Regions from separate parts of the Homo sapiens genome. Here region 2 is linked to region 1. Evidence: promoter capture Hi-C in 16 types of primary human blood cells and fetal thymus (Javierre and others, 2016). All regions are on one chromosome and are shown on one strand. The core of a region is centred on a gene start or on the middle of the fragment in contact, and the rest is flanking DNA. Distances in the headings are between cores, read along the strand shown.

Evidence for each region. The method cuts DNA at HindIII sites, captures the fragments that hold promoters and counts their contacts. A CHiCAGO score of 5 or more calls a contact.
Region 2: a fragment that was not itself captured here is called in contact with the fragment with the promoter of ANKRD44-AS1 in region 1 in 1 of 17 cell types (non-activated CD4 T cells); the score reaches 5.6 in non-activated CD4 T cells.

The regions. Positions count from the first base shown.
Region 1 is chr2:197,196,710-197,200,753 of GRCh38, reverse strand. ANKRD44-AS1 (ANKRD44 antisense RNA 1) reads right to left here and starts at 2,763. Exons shown (of 2, transcript NR_135584.1): 1 at 2,665-2,763; 2 at 1,481-1,836. All of the region lies in intron 1 of ANKRD44 (ankyrin repeat domain 44), which reads left to right. RefSeq lists an enhancer at 1,648-1,717. The HindIII fragment of the contact is 4,177 bases long and covers 1,566-4,044 here.
Region 2 is chr2:196,230,428-196,234,477 of GRCh38, reverse strand. All of the region lies in intron 21 of HECW2 (HECT, C2 and WW domain containing E3 ubiquitin protein ligase 2), which reads left to right. Among named protein-coding and RNA genes, the nearest start is that of HECW2-AS1, 28 kb to the left of the region's middle. The HindIII fragment of the contact is 697 bases long and covers 1,503-2,199 here.

The DNA of each region.
Region 1 (4,044 bases), core at 1,514-4,013:
GCTTTCTTTCATGTTATTCATATTATTTTCCAGATGGGCAGGAGCAGCTTAAATGACTACTGTTGTTTGAAGGGCACAGCAAGCGTTGTATGTGTTTTGGCAGGGGGTAGCATAGGGCATGAGAAGGACAGGGAAGGAAGAGATTTGGAGGTAATTTCAAGCTCGTGCTGTCTGGAAGTAGTGCATTTTAAATTAGTGTTAGTGTGATGTTCTGCAGCAGCCAAGCTTGGGAATTTTTTATATCTTTAAGCAGAGTCTGGCGAGTGGTGGTGGTGGGAGGAGTATGAGAAGAGGGTGTTTAGAAATGCTGTAACTCAGGACATTCTCCTGAGCATATACATGTCTAAAGTCAGTGCTGTGCCCTGCCTCATTTGTCATTCCAAAATACATTTTTTTCCTTCCTCCATCTAAACCATGTTCAGGCCTTGTTCAAGTCCTGCCTCCTCCAGAGACACCACTCTGGCTTCTTAGCCTTTCATGCTTCCCCTTTTCTGAATCAAGAAGGCTCCTAGAATATTATGGCTAAAGGCACCTCCAGATTACCTCTCCAATCTGTCATTGTGCAGAAGGACAACTTGGCATCCATTTGCATGAGGTCTGTAGAACATGGTTCAGTACTGTCTTACACAGTTTAAGTGTTTTGTGTGGGTTAGGCTTATTTCCCCAACTATATTTGGCAGTCTTTTAGGAAAGGACTATGTCACACATTTCTTTTGTATATTTCATAAAAATAGCATATTGTAGGTACTCAGAAAATGCTTTTGGCTCTGGTAGCACTTCTCTGTGCAATGTGGATAAGCACTGATAGAGGCTTGTTTGTTGTGGTACAAACTAGAAACAACCCAAATGCCCATTCGAAGGGGAATAATTGAATATGTTATGGCATATCCATACAATGGAATAGTATTATATATAGTTATTAAGAGAAATGATTTAATCCTGTAGCTATCGACCTGGGGGATGTCCTCAGTACATCATTATTTTTGCAAATTGTAAGAGAGGGAAATAAGCCAGGCATGGTGGTATGCATCTGTAATCCAGACTACTTGGATTACAGATACTTGGGTGGGAGGATCGCTTGAACCCAAGAATTTGAGACCACCCTGGACAATATAGCAAGACCCCCATCTCAAAAAAAGTGTGTGTGTGGGAAATAGTAAAATCCCATTTTCTGATAATAAATAACGATAATCTCATATATCTGTATCTGTACCTACCAACAAGAACACGGGCTGTTCACATTTGTGGTAGGAAAGGTTATTAAGTTTTTTCTTTATCTGTTTTTGTATTGTTGCAACAGGAAACCTACTAAGATTAAAATCCAGCAAACATAAGACAAAGATAAAATGCACAGGGGTTTTGATGCATTAGGTGTTTCCCATAGTACTTCCTATTTTTCAAACTTCGTGTGATTAAAAAAGTAAGTTTTATCCCTGACTAAATTTCAGTGTGGAAATAAAGAAATAAAGATAGCATGTACTTGGCTTAGGTATACTTGTTTTGTTCTTTCAGCTCGTTACGTAAAGATACATTTTTTTTTCTTTCTCATGACATGAAGATAAGCTTTCTTCTTACCAAAACCTAAACTGTGAAGGCAGCACCCAAGCCAAAAGCCTCGAGGCTCTGGTTTCTGTGGTGGGATGGGGAGAGAAGTAGGTTGCACAGATGTAGGATGCCAGCTGACTTCAGAACTTCCGGTCTCAGAGCTAACCAGGCTCGGCAAGCCACAAGAGAGAAGGAGCTTGCATAGGTGGAAGAGCAAAGAAAGCCAGTGCTGCAGAACTTCCGGTGCTCCTCCGCCGATGTCGGGCTGGCGCTGCTCCCGAGCCCTGTGTCCTGTGGAAGAAGTTGGTGAGAATCGTTTTGAATGTAGGCAGCCACTCCTGAGGAGGCTAGCCCTTGCTACATTAAAGGTGGAGCTAGATTTACATTTTATTTTATTTTATTTTATTTTTTATTTTTCGAGATGGAGTCTTGCTGTCGCCCAGGCTGGAGTGCAGTAGCACGATTTCAGCTCACTGCAACCTCCACCTCCCGGGCTCAAGCGATTCACCTGCTTCAGCCTCCCGAGTAGCTGGGATTACAGGGGCACGCCACCATGCCTGGCTAATTTTTTGTATTTTTAGTAGAGACGGGGTTTCACCATGTTGGCCAGGCTGGTCTCAAACTCCTGGCCTCAGGTGATCCACCTGCCTCGGCCTCCCAAAGTGCTGGGATTACAGACGTGAGCCACCATGCCCGGTCAAATTTACCTTTTAGATTCACATATTACCACCAGAAGAATGCTTCCTCTGACAACTGAGCGGTACTCCATCCCCAGAGCCCTTTGTGCAGACTATTATTGCAGTTTCCTAACTTGTTATGACACTCCAGCCTTTTCCTCCAGGTCATCATACAATCCATTTTTAGAGTGATTGTTCTAAAGCACAAATCTTAGGTCACTCCCCTGCTCAAAAACCACCCACTGCTCCCCCAGTTCCACAGAAGAGAGCTCAAATTTCTTAGCTTGGTATTCAAGACCTTCCATGATAGGATCCCTGTCTACTACTCAGCTTACCTCACTTCTCCCCTCCTCCAGCCAAATGAAACTGTTCCCTGTGTATGTTCAGGCTCCCTAGCTTCTGCTCACAGCCTTCTGAATATGAAGAAGGGAAAGTCCCTTACCATTCCATCCGTCTCTACCTGTTTAAATCCTCCCCAGTCTTCAATATTCATTTCAGAGGCTGCGTCTTTCAGGAGGCCAGGTACAATTTCTCTCCCTTCTCCATGCACTTCTCCTGCGGCCTGTGCCTTACATTCTAGCTGTGCGTATTTGTATACTTCCTGTTACACCTTGGTAACCTCATCAAGGGAGAGACTGACTCTGACATTCCAGTGTCTGAATTTCTTTCTTTCTTTTTCTTTTTCTGTGTTTCTTTCTTTCTTTTTTTTTTTTTTTTTTTTTGAGACAGGATTTCACTCTGTCACCCAGGCTGGAGTGCAATGGTGTGAGCATGGCTCACTGCAGCCTCAATTTCCTGGGCTCAGTTGGTTCTCCCACCTCAGCCTCCCGAGTCGCTGGGACTACAGGTGTGCGCCACCGTGCCCAGCTAATTTTTGCATTTTTAGTGGAGATGTGGTTTCACCATGTGTCTAGGCTGGTCTGGAACTCCTGGATTCAAGTGATCCGCCTGCCTTGGTCTCCCAAAGTGTTGGGATTACAAGCATGAGCTACTGCGCCCGGCCTCCAGTGTCTGAATTTCTTATGCTCAGTAAATGTCTTATGCTTAATACATCTTTGTTGAATTGAATGTGGTTATCTGAAATGTACCAAATTAAGTTTTAGAAAACATATCTTTTATCCCCTGTTGGAGGGGGTAGTGTGTAAAGAAATAAAGGAGCTACGCACTGGGTTGGTGTCTGTGAAAGGAAATATGATATGACTTCTTTTTTTTTGCAGAATTTCCCATTTTCCCATTTTATATTATCGAATGTTTTCCAGTCTCTTAGGCTCCTCTCTCTTCCTGCTGCCTTATCCTTTCCCTTTGACATCTGTCACTGGATGTCCTTACCATGATTTTGGATGGGGAAATGAGAAGATGCTTCCTGAAAGACTACACTGAGGGGATTCTCTAATAGATTTTCATTCCATGTGACTTTTTCTGGCTGGGGAGGGAGTAGGGGACCTTCCAGTCATCTCAGGCAGAAACTAATTCAGGTCCTGATCAACCCACTGCCTTAAATTTTAGAATGGTTGCTATAACAATTTTAGAATGGTTGCTATAACAAGATGCCTTAGGAAAAAAAAAATTGACAATGGCCAGAACAGGAAGGTGACTCCGTTTTACACATGTCCCTAGTCCCTCACCTGTGGAGAGGTGGTGAGAGTTTAACTGCTTGCTGTCTTTCCAAGAATGCACGTGGAATTCAAAGAAAAGAACAGTAGAAGGGAAGGAGAGGGTTTAAAGGAAAATTGTCATGGGCTTTGGAAAGACCTGATTGTGTAAAAATTGCTTGCTGGTGTTTGGAAAGAACCCAGGTGCTAACAGATTTTAGACAAACCCA
Region 2 (4,050 bases), core at 602-3,101, 970 kb after region 1:
ATAAAAAATAAATAAATAAATAATTAGCTGGTTGTGATGGCTTGTGTCTGTAGTCCTAGATACTTGGGAGGCTGAGGCAGGAGGATCGCTTGAGTCCAGGAGCTCAAGGTTACAGTGAGCTACGATTGTGCCACTGTACTCCAGCCTGGGTGACAGAGCAAAACCCTGTCACCCTGTCTCTTTAAAAAAAAAAAAAAACTGGATTAGACTGTTGTGTTCTGATAAGGCGTGGGGCCACTAATTTCTTAATACCCAAAACATTAAAGAAATAGTGGCCTGCGTAAAGAGAGGAGGTTTACACTGTGATTGCCCTGCCTCTTTTTCTCCATGGCCAACCCTGTAAAAGGCACCTTTCTTAAGAAAGAATGAGTTTATTATGTGTGAGGTGCCATCAATATGACATCAATCATGTCTTGCAGAGCCACACTTTGACTGGGGTGGAGATGTGTACAAGCAGTTTTAGTTTGGGAGTTTAAGAACTTCCTGTAATATCTTCCTTTTGAGCTTTCTGTAACTCCCCTGAGACAGGCAAATGAAAGCAACTAGGGAGGATGAGATCTGAAGGAGTTTTCTTCAGTCTCTGCTTATAAAGTAACCAACCAGTTCTTACATATGACTGGTCAGATCCTCACTAGAAGCTGTTTGAGGCCCTGAGCTTGGTCATTAATTTCTCAGAAATCTGTGAAGCTTCAAGGTACACTTTATGGTGTTCCCTTTTTTTCTTCCAAAAAGAGACATTCACAGGATAACCTAAATTACCCAAACCTTTCTAAAGAAGGATGCTTCTGTATCTAGGCTTTGGTTTGGTAGCACCTGGTAAGACTTTGTTTATCATATCAAAATACCTTACTCACCTACCAGGCTTTCTTAATTGGCTCAAGAACTAACACCTTGCTGCTATAAATATCTGAGGGTGAATCAGAAGGTGTGTAGGCCATGTGTGCCTGAACCAACTTGTAGGAAATGGTGTGACTTCCCAAGGCCATCATCTTCTTTCATTTTATAGTCTGCTTTCATTAGAATACTTAGTTTTCAGTAATTCTTAGTTGAAAATAAAGAATGGGAGAATAAAATTTGTTATTTTAACAAATTTTGGGTGCCACTGACAACTTGGGTGGAGTGCCAACCCAGCCATGTGATGATATTTAAAATGCTCTATCAGCACTTGGGGCTCCAGACTACATGGCCACCCTGGAGACATCTGTGCTTATTCGGAAATGCCCTCAGATGCAGCTGTTGTGCGGCTACACACCCGTCGTCCAGAGTTTTTATATTTCCGTGCCAAGCCTTTAGCTGTGGAACCAACCTAACTGGCAAAACAGGAATGTAACAGACAATCCCTGTGATATGAGTCATATTAACTATTTATATGAAAGAAGTTGCTAAGACATTACAGGAAGCAAAGGCATGATGTACCCTGCTGTGACATGTTTTACTGAGTTAGCTAGGCTTATTTATAAATTGTAATCTACAACCTGCTCTCAGATAGGCAGTTCTAAGCTTTGGATTATAATCAAATCAAAGTTTAAGACTATTTTGGCTTTAGAGGTGACTCCATCAGTGCTTCTAGAGTTAAAAGTCAGCAGATAAAAACTTGACCAGTTGAAGACACATTTTCTCCTAGAGGAACTAACTGTTAGCTCTGTTTTTGCTTGGGAAAACAAGACTTTTCATTTTCAGTTTAATTCCTCAGGGAACATTCATCTCATCTTCAGCCAGATTCAGCTATCATCATAAAAAGGGAACTAATCAGTGAGGTCAGTCTTTGTTGTTTTAGCAAACTTTACCACCTGAGAAGATATTACATGTTAAACTTTCTAAGCATAATTTACTTGATGATTTCTGACAATGTTTTCAAATTGAGCAACCTTTCAGGGATTGGTATAACCTGTTCATGTCATTGAATCAATATACCACTCAAAGGCAAATGTGCAAATCTGCTAGATACCAAATAACAATGTAAGCAATGTTGATTTTTCTTTAGAAAGCATCAAAGAGCTCCACTCATTGATTCAACAATATATATTGAGCCCCCACTGTGTATCAGGCTAGGTACAGATATAAAAATGAGTAAAACATGGTCCCTGCCCCAGTGTAGTTACAGACTAGTATGTATGTATAGGGGAGGCAGGCACATAGACAGATAATTGTAATGCACTCTATAAGTGCAGTATTATTAAAATACTCAGAGGTAAAGCTTAAAGAAACCCTGATACTTCTAACTGAATGCCACAGTTTAATTTTAAGCAGGCAAAATCCCATTTTACTTTTACCAGTTGTCTGTAAGAAAACTGACTCCTGAAGTATTTGCCTCATGTTTCAGCTGTCTCCGACCTTATCCATTGTATGCTCTATTGTGTCTGAAAGCCTCACAGAGAATGACCATGGCTGACGGGTGCTCACTCTGTGCCTCACACTTAGTATTCTACCCACTCCTTGAGGTTGCGTACACCCTAGGATATTGTAAGCTAGATTTTTTTTTTATTTGATACAAAGTCTCTCTCACTGTCACCCAGGCTGGAGTGCAGTGGCGCGATCTCTGCTCACTGCAAGCTCTGCCTCCTGGGTTCACGCCATTCTCCTGCCTCAGCCTCCCAAGTAGCTGGGACTACAGGCGCCCACCACCACATTCTGCTAATTTTTTGTATTTTTAGTAGAGACGGGGTTTCACCATGTTAGCCAGGATGGTCTCGATGGTCCTGACCTTGTGATCCGTCTGCCTCAGCCTCCCAAAGTGATGGGATTACAGGCGTGAGCCACTGCCCCCGCCCATAAGCTAGATATTTTAACAAGTAGTATTTTCCTCCTATTTTCTTTCTTTTGTAACAGAGGTTAGCAAAATTTTCCTGTAAAGGGCTAGGTGGTAAATATTTGGGATTTCACCAGTCAAACCTCTATGGCACCTACTCAACTCTGCCCTTGTAGCAGGAAAGCGGACAACATCAATACATAAATGGGCACAGCTGTGTTCCAGTAACACTTTATTTACAAACCAGAGGGTGGGGCAGATTGGACCTGCAGGTTTGCCAACCGCTACTCTATTAGCAGTATTTTTTTAGTCTTGATGAACATTTAAAATTGGCTGAAGGGTAGGCTGTAAGAAGTAACAAGCATTAAACTTGGGGTCAGGGCACCTGCCTGAAGACCCCAAGGCCTGCTGGTTCTTCCATTTGCAGTTTTCATGTGATACAAGTCAGTGATCTCTTTCGGCCTTAGTCGTCTCTATAAAATGATGGCATTGGACAAAATGACTTCTAAGATGACTTTGACCACGGGCATGCTCTGTTTCTAAAAGACACAGGGGACTAAGTCTCAAAAAGTGAAATTTTAATCGGGAAAAGTATGGTCTAGTGTTAAGGCCTTTTTTTTTTTTTTTTTTTTTTTTGAGACGGAGTCCTGCTCTGTCGCCAGGCTGGAGTGCAGAGGCGCCATCTGCAACCTCTGACTCCCTGGTTCAAGTGATTCTCCTGCCTCAGCCTCTCGAGTAGCTGGGATTACAGGCATGCGCCACCACACCCAGCTAATTTTTTGTATTTTTAGTAGAGACGGGGTTTCACCATGTTGGCCAGGATGGTCTCAATCTCCTGACCTCGTGATCCGCCTGCCTCAGCTTCCCAAAGTGCTGGGATTACAGGCGTGAGCCATGGCACCCAGCCATATTAAGGCTTTTAAAAGATGCAGCTACATGCAGACAGGATGGGGGAGTCCTGGGTTAAAGCAGTTTAGATGAAAGGTTTCGGGCTTTAGCTGATGACTAGCACTTTGTAAGTCAACAAAGTAAAGTGGTTGCTCCAAAGGCAGGATAAGTTTAACCTGCATCGCCGGAGAAAAGTGTCGAGGAGTTTCTAAGCTCTGTGCTGAGAAGACCTCACCTGGAGTGTTACGATCAAGTCTTTAATGCCACCAGGGTAGAGAAGGAATTCTCACCCCTGCCCTGAGAGAAGGTTGAAGGAAGTGGCCATGCTCAGGAGTGGGAAAGGGAGAGAAGGAGGCTGGGACCAGGAGATGGAAACTGCTAAACCTAAAGTTCCAATGGAAAATGACTTTGAA